Linked DNA regions of Homo sapiens: region 1 is linked to region 2. The links are contacts of gene promoters, found by promoter capture Hi-C in blood cells and fetal thymus (Javierre and others, 2016). All regions are on one chromosome and are shown on one strand. The core of a region is centred on a gene start or on the middle of the fragment in contact, and the rest is flanking DNA. Distances in the headings are between cores, read along the strand shown.

Evidence for each region. The method cuts DNA at HindIII sites, captures the fragments that hold promoters and counts their contacts. A CHiCAGO score of 5 or more calls a contact.
Region 1: a contact is called between the fragment with the promoter of CBR3-AS1 here and the fragment with the promoter of RCAN1 in region 2, in 1 of 17 cell types (neutrophils). The highest score is 8.8, in neutrophils.

Annotation. Positions count from the first base shown.
Region 1 is chr21:36,154,406-36,158,329 of GRCh38, forward strand. CBR3-AS1 (CBR3 antisense RNA 1) reads right to left here and starts at 1,903. Exons shown (of 3, transcript NR_038893.1): 1 at 1,812-1,903. DOP1B (DOP1 leucine zipper like protein B) reads left to right here and starts at 2,419. Exons shown (of 37, transcript NM_001320714.2): 1 at 2,419-2,538. RefSeq lists enhancers at 945-1,612, 1,613-2,279, 1,664-1,713, 1,794-1,853 and silencers at 2,034-2,583, 2,614-2,913. The HindIII fragment of the contact is 13,180 bases long and covers 1-3,924 here.
Region 2 is chr21:34,613,431-34,617,083 of GRCh38, forward strand. It overlaps RCAN1 (regulator of calcineurin 1), which reads right to left and starts at 1,683. Exons shown (of 4, transcript NM_004414.7): 1 at 1,330-1,683. The coding sequence starts at 1,581. RefSeq lists silencers at 1,198-1,297, 1,488-1,917. The HindIII fragment of the contact is 8,899 bases long and covers 278-3,653 here.

The DNA.
Region 1 (3,924 bases), core at 653-3,152, 1.5 Mb after region 2:
ATATTTCTTGTCAGAATATGCAATTTTTTTTTTTTTTTTGAGATGGAGTCTCACTCTGTCACTCAGGCTGGAGTGCAGTGGTGTGATCAAGGCTCACTGCAACCTCTGTCTCCCAGGTTCAAGCAATCCTCCTGTCTCAGCCTCCCCAGTAGCTGGGACTACAGGTGCACACCACTACACCCAGCTAATTTTTGTATTTTTAGTAGAGACAGGGTTTCACTATATTGGTCGGGCTGGTCTCGAACTCCTGACCTCAGGTGATCCACCTGCCTCGGCCTCCCAAAGTGCTGGGATTACAGGCGTGAGCCACTGCGCTCGGCCAGAATACTCAAATCTCAATGTTGTACATTTACTGTCAATCCTGTCAGTATCAGTATATTGTATACAGTATACAGTAATTGACAGTATACTGTCAATTATAAATTGAGTTTTTTAAATTATGATTTACAAATGAATTTGTCAAAATTAAATTAAACCCCCCCACACGCACACACACCTGGAATCCTTTACAGATAGGTGGTATATGAATACAAGGCACAGATTGTATGTGCATGGTGGCTTTGGCACAAACAGACTACTTCTTTTTTCAATGTTAAGTGTAAAGCAGTTCTTTCATCTCTGTTCAGTGCAGTGTTGAGTGTGACTAGGATTTGAAGAACCTAAAAAAAAAAAAAACTCACCTGCTTGCCATCTTCTTGTTTTTTTTTTGTTGTTTTTTGGTTTTTGCTGGTTTTGTTTGCTGCTTTTGTAAAACCAGTTTATCATATTCTCATTAGGAAATCAATTTTCATGAAATTAATTTTTTTTCCTGCTAACTATGGCTCAATCTTTTCGTTTCTCTCTGCTTCTATCTTAAGACCATTCCTCAAATTGACCATGAGAGGATTTACATCTGGGGCACTTGGTATATGCCAAATGGAGACAAAATCAGAATCAGCAGCCTGGCTGGGCCACAGGTCCAGCATCCCAAGCTATTAAAATATTCTTAGTGTTTCCAGGGAAGTGATAGATCCACTTTGGAAGCTGATAATATACCCCTCCCCTAGAAACATGCATATACACAAAGTGTTCTAAACAACTTCCAGGTGCTCATGACCTCCCCCACCTCCCAAGCTCATTGACCACTGCCTCGCCTTCACGAACTCCAGACCTGGTCTGAACATTTCTAAAGGACGCTCGGGAGTTAAAAGGAGCGAGGCCACTGCAGAAATGACAGCCTTCATCCACAAGTGGCCCACTTCGGGTTGGCTGGAGCCACAGCTGGGTGGGGACAGGGCCTGTGCTCAGGTGAGCACTGCCTACCGCGCACCCTCCAGGTGCGTCCTACCCTGAAGCGGTCGGACTGGACCGTCTAGGTCCCAGCGCTCGAGAGGATGGCAGGCAGGGGCTGGTGATTGTCTGGAGATATGAATGCTTTCTAAGGTTGACGTCAAGGTCTCCTTCCTGAGCCACAGTCCACGTGATAAGCTCTGTCCAGGTAGAAATGATCTCACCTCTCCTGTCGCCCAGGGTCGGAAACCTGAGGCCCGTGCGGGCTGGGGCAACTTAGCAGGGGTCCCAAGCCCGCCGCGCCCCCTGCGCCCCAAACGTGTGTGGAGGGCTTGGACGTGGTCCAGAGGGAAAAGATGGGGTGAACCAGGTGCCGCGCACCCTTCGAGGAGCCCCCGCTTCTCCGTTTCTGTGAGTGACTCCAAAGCACCTCCGAGGGCCGACACACGCGCGGACGACCTTGGGCGGGCACTGACCAATGTCCCCTTCCACTCGGTTGTGTCGGGGGTCCCCAGGTGAGGCGCGAACGCCGCCCCGCTCACCTGTACGAGGCCTTTCCCGGAGCAGCCCGGCTACGAAGCGACACCCATGGCGGAGAAGCTAAGGAAGACTCCCGCTCCCTCACACCGCGGCTGAGGCGACTGAACCGCCCCAGTACGCCGGGGCCCTCCCCAAGCCCTGCTCCCAAGCCGAAGCCCCGCCCCCGCGTCTAAGGCCCACCTCCAGGCCCCGCCCCTGACCCCGACTCCGTGAGTCAAGCCTGGCCTTTCAGTCCAGCCCAGCCCGTCGAGGCCCCGCCCCTGTTGTTATGGCCCGCCTCCAGGCACCGCCCTTGATCCCACCTTCATGAGTCAGGCCCCGCCTTCCAGCCTAGCCCGGCCAGCCGAGGCCCCGCCCCTGTAGGGACAGCCCACTTCCAGGCCCCGCCCTTGATCCCGCCTCCTTCGGTCAGGCCCCGTCTTCTAGTTCCGCCCCGCCCGCGGAAACCCCGCCCCCGCGCGCCTATGGCCCACCTCCAGGTCCCGCCCCTGAGCCCGCCTCCAGGCGTCCAGCCCCGCCTTCCAGCCCCGCCCCAAGCGCCGAGGCCCGGCTTCCAGGCTCCGCCCCGACCCGCGCGGTGGGGAAGAGCCGCTGCCGCTGGTTCTCCGGCTCTTCCTCGGCGGTTCTGGCTCCCGGCCGCGCCGCAGCCCTGCCCAGTCTCTCTCCCCCAGCCCGGAGGGCTCCTCCGCGCCGCACGTGAGCGCGCCCGCCAACAGGGCCACTGCCGCGGTAAGTCGTGCCTGCGCCCTGTCCGGCGTCCAGTCCTCAGCCGCTGGGCGAAGCCGGAGGAGCCGGGCATCTCCTCCCCGCCGGCCCGCGGGTCCTTCTCCGGGTCCAGAGGGCTTGGGCGGCGCCGTGGGGCGGCCCGGGGTGCAGGTGGCTTACCGGCGCGCGGCCCGGGCCTGCGGCGCGCTCTGCTGCAGTGCGGGGGCGGAGAGCTCGGGGCCGGAGACCGGGAGGGCAGCGGGGAGACTGGGTGGGGTCCCCTAGGGTTACCCGACCCTGGCGCGGAGGATATGATGCCGGCCACGCCCTCGCCGAGCGGGGCGGCAGGTGCAGGTCCAGGGGTGGGTCGCGGCCCGCGCGCCCTCCCGGGGCCGGCCCACGAAGAGACGCTCAGCCTTTGTTTGCTGGTGCCCTGGCTGGGGAGGAGGCTGGGGACGCAGACCTGTGAGAACTAAGGGCTTTCCTCGTTGGGGAAGACCCCAGTCTTCCAGCCAGTCCCCAGGAGAAGGGATCCGGGCCGCAGTGCGCGCTCTGCCAGCCTGGCCCCTGCGCCCTGCAGGGTTCCCGGCTGCTCGCGGGGACTGTTACCCGCAGTGTTGCCTTACACTCGCGACTGCAGCCCCACAATTGGGAAGACTTTGCTAGGATTTTTTTGGTAAGGCGAGGGAAGACCGTCCCCCCGGCCCCACAAGTCTGCTGCCATTAGGTGGCTTAAATTTTTTCCAGTACAATTTAATTGCCACTTTGAAAGACCACATTCAAAACAGTGTGTCCCAGAGTTGATTAAGCCCATTGGTGATGAGTGTTTCTGTGCTGTGGACTAAGGATCATTATCAATTTTATTACTAATAGTACATATCTGTTATCTGTTGCTAAATGTTTTTGCTTATGTGGTAGGGTCACTGTCCTCATTTTCATCGAACTGAGAAATGTTCCTTCATATAGACATATTTACAGTGAACTTTTTTGGGATCTGGCAGTTGGTTTTTCTCTTGAACTTGTTTTTTTCTTTTTCTAAATTATTATTATTATTATTATTTTGAGACGAAGGTCTCATTATGTTGCCCAGTCTGGTCTCAAACTCCTGGGCTCAAGCAATCCTTCCACCTCGGCCTCTTAAAGTGCTGGGATTACAGGTATGAGCCACAGTGCCCAACCCTGAATTTGATTTTCTATGAAATTAAAAATGGGTAAAGAGAGAGATTTCTTGCTGACATTTTCGATTTTAAGGTATCTGAGCAGATACACTTCTTGTGTGATTACTTCTTTCTGTGTCTAGTTATTTATAGCCTGTATAACTGTCGGTTTTACTGAACTCTTCAATCTCTCACAGGAGACATATCCAGGATAGATTGCAAGATCATTGGCAAAAGAGCTATTTGAGAACTG
Region 2 (3,653 bases), core at 433-2,932:
GTTAAAATGAATAGCTAGCGAAGTGGGCAAACTTTCATACAACACAATTTCAGGATTGTATCCAACACTGGAAAAAATTGTCTCCAACACTACAAGTAAGTGCCGTCTTACGTGACTTGACCTTGTTCTAGCAGAAAGACAGCCTAGAACTCCTAAGGAAAAGGTCTGAAATGCTGGCTAGCGCTTAGTTTATATGGAGAGGAAAAGGTTTTAGAGTAAGATCAATCAGTAAGACCCTGAGTTCCTGACAATTGCTGCTCTAGAAAGCATGCCTGGAAGCTTACCTAAGCACACGGCCATTGTAATTCCTTTCAGAAAGTAAGTGAACATATAAATTATAAATAAATGACACTTACATACACCATTCTGTTTCACAGTGGTGTTGTATTGGCAGCAGCCTTCAACTATAGTTCATTGACAGCATTTGTGGACCCACAGCCAAGCGCTGAAAGCACTGCTTTTTTTGACAGCTGCTCTCCTAATGGGGCATCTCTCAAAGACCGGTTTCATTCTGTGACGCCCACGTTGTCCACATTTTATTCTGCACAATAACTGCAGATTTGAAATAAATTCTTCCTCCCCACCACCATTATTGATTACTCATACCTGCCCCTCACCCTCCAAAGTGTCTAAATTGTGTGGATTTTGCGGGGGTGGGGGGAGGCGGGGGAAGGAGTCGACTCCCCATGTACTGGGTGTCCCCGATGGCGGCAAGCCACACCTTCACACAAGGGGGCAAGGTTCTTGACTAAATATCCTAAAGGTCTGAAAGATGGTCCCCTTCCCCCCAACACAATTCCACCAAAACTGGCCAGCCGCTGGCTAATGAGCAACCACGGATCCTCACCCAAACATTGGCTTTTCTTCCAATAGTGCAGATTGGGAATGCAGGGACGTCGTCCTATTTATGAACACTGAGTCACGTCGCCGCTCAATGTCTGTTTCCTCCTCCCTAGGAATGAGGTGACCCCCTCCTCCAGCGAGTAAATGCGGGGCGATGGCGAGAGCGCAGGGGGCGGCGGCGCTGCCCCACCTTGGGGAGCGAATTCACCCCCCTAGTCGCACCAGCCTGGGCGCACACGGGGGCCGGGGCGAGCCTGTGGGACTCTGCAGTGAGCTCCGCGCGCCCCGGGGGTGCTAGGGGACCGGGACCCTCGGGGCGCCGTCCCCACGCCCCAGCCCTGACGGGTCCGCGGCCGAGCAGCCCGGGGGACGTCGCTGCCTCCCCGCCCCGCGCGCGGCCGGGACTGGGCGCTGCGACCCGCGCCGCCTCCTCGGGCAACAAGTGTCCGCCCTCCGCCCCGACGGCCCGCCCGGCGCGGTCCTCACCCGGCACAGGCCGTCCACGAACACGCGCGGGTCCAGGTGACAGGCGATGGTGGCGCTGGGCAGGTCCTGCAGGTCCACCTCCTCCATCTCGCAGTCAATGAAGCTCCAGTCGCCGCCGCCCTCGTCCGCCTCGGCCGCCCCCGAGAGGGGCGCGAAGGGCCGCAGCGTCACCCCGGGCCGCGCTCGCGCCTCGGCCGCCTCCGCCGCCTCCGCCGCGGCCCCGAGCTGGGGACCGGCCACGCCGTCCTCCATCCCCGCGCCCGCGCGACCCTGTGCGCCCCAGCGGGCTGCTCCGGGCTTGCGCGCCGGAGCCTCACGCGCTCCGGTCCGCGCCCGGCCGGCGGCTCCGCCGTTAACCCCCTCGGAATCGCGCGGCGGCAGGCGGCGGGCTGTCAGCAGTCTCCCAGCGACACGGCCTCCCAGCGCCAGCCCCGCCCGTCACCGTTCCGCGCGGGAGGGGCAGAAGCCCGGCGCGGCGACCGCCCCCCCAGCCCCTAGGGCCGGCCACCGGCAGATCCAACGGTGGCCCCTTTAAGGCCGGCGCCGGTTGGGTTATTGTACCCCGCCCTTCCAGGAGACGGGGCCAATAAAGGAACGGAATTCTCTTCACGTGACCTTCCTTCTGCCGCCCGAAGCCCGAAGCCTCAGGGCGGCCATGTTGGTTAGGGGCAAAGTCCTCGTCCCCAGTTCCGCTTTTCTGACAGCTGGTGCCAGCTGAAGGACGCCGGGCAGAGTCCTCGGCTCTTGGGCCCTTGGGGTGATAACTGGGGAGGCAACGTTTTTGTGGTTCCCATGCGGGGACGTTTTGAAGCACAGGGGCCCACTTTTGGGAATTTAAGCGAGACATAGTCTCCCTGTGGCTCTGTGGCCCCTGGCAAGTGGTTAGATGCTTACCGTATATTATCAGATATAGTCGCAATAAAGACTGAACTAGACCATGATAACAATGCCTTACTTTTCTATTTCAGCGTATTAGTCACTATACCATTGTGAAAATTTATGTAATTAGAAGTAATTTTTCTGAATTACCATTATATGCTATGTACAATAGGACATAACGAAAGAATTAAGAGATCACCCCTTTCCTTTGGGGAATAGCGGAAAAATAAGAGGACCTCAAGTGAGCAGACATGTCTCTTCCTGAAAAATAGAATTCTTTTTTGGACAGTATGATACAGTGAGAACTTGGGTCTGAATTTCAGCTTTGCTTTTTAACTACTTGTACAAATAAGCTGAATCTTAGTTTCCTCATCTGAAAAAAATGAAGACATATTACTAAGAATTCAGTCAGTGCTTAATAAATGGTAGCTGTTTATGCACTGGGTTCTTTGGAGGTTGTGAAATTACAGTTATATTTTTTCTTAGAGTAGGCTTACTCTCTAGTTAGGAAGTGTTAGTAATTATAACAAAAAGTATATCCAACAGCTGAGATTTATTCAGAACTTGCCATGTGCACGGTTCTATGATTACTATTATCATAGTCTTAGGACAGTTTGTGTCCTCAGGGAGCTAAACCCAAGAGGAATAATAATACCCATCTAGAGATAACTCATAAAATAGAATATGATATGAGGATGTGAAGAAATTGGAACCGTCATACTGTGAAAGGGAAATCTTGGGCCCCCAAAATCACTAAGGAAAACTAAAGCTGGAAGTTGCTTAGAGCCAACCAGCCTCCCATTCCATTCAAAGTCACCCCTCTGCTCACTGAGACAGATGCATTTCACCGAGACAGATTTGCCTCCTTTATAAAGACTAATCAGAAACCCAAAGAGTGTAACCGTTTGTCTATCACCTATCTGTGACCTGGAAGCTCCCTCCTGCCTCCTGCCTTTGCAGTAGTCTTCCTGCCTTTGCTTCAAGTTGTCCTGCCTCTCCAGACCAAACCAATGTACTGCTTACATACATTCATTGATGTCTCATGTCTCCCTAACATGTATAAAACCAAGCTGTGCCTTGATCACCTTGGGTACATGTCCTCAGGACTTCCTGAGGCCTGTCATGGGCATGCCCTCAACCTTGGCAAAATAAACTTTCTAAATTAATTGAGACCTGTCTCAAATTTTCAGGGTTCACAATATATTGCTGATGGGCATGTAAAATGGCGCAGCCACTTTGGAAAACAATTTGGCAAGTCCTCAAAAAGTTCTATGTAGAGTGACCATATGACCCAGCAATTCCTCTCCTAGGTATATACTTAAAAGAAATGAAAACGGCCGGGAGCCATGGCTCACGCCTGTAATCCCAACAATTTGGAAGGCCAAGGCGGGCAGATCACCTGAGGTTGGGAGTTCCAGACCAGCCTGACCAACATGGAGAAACCC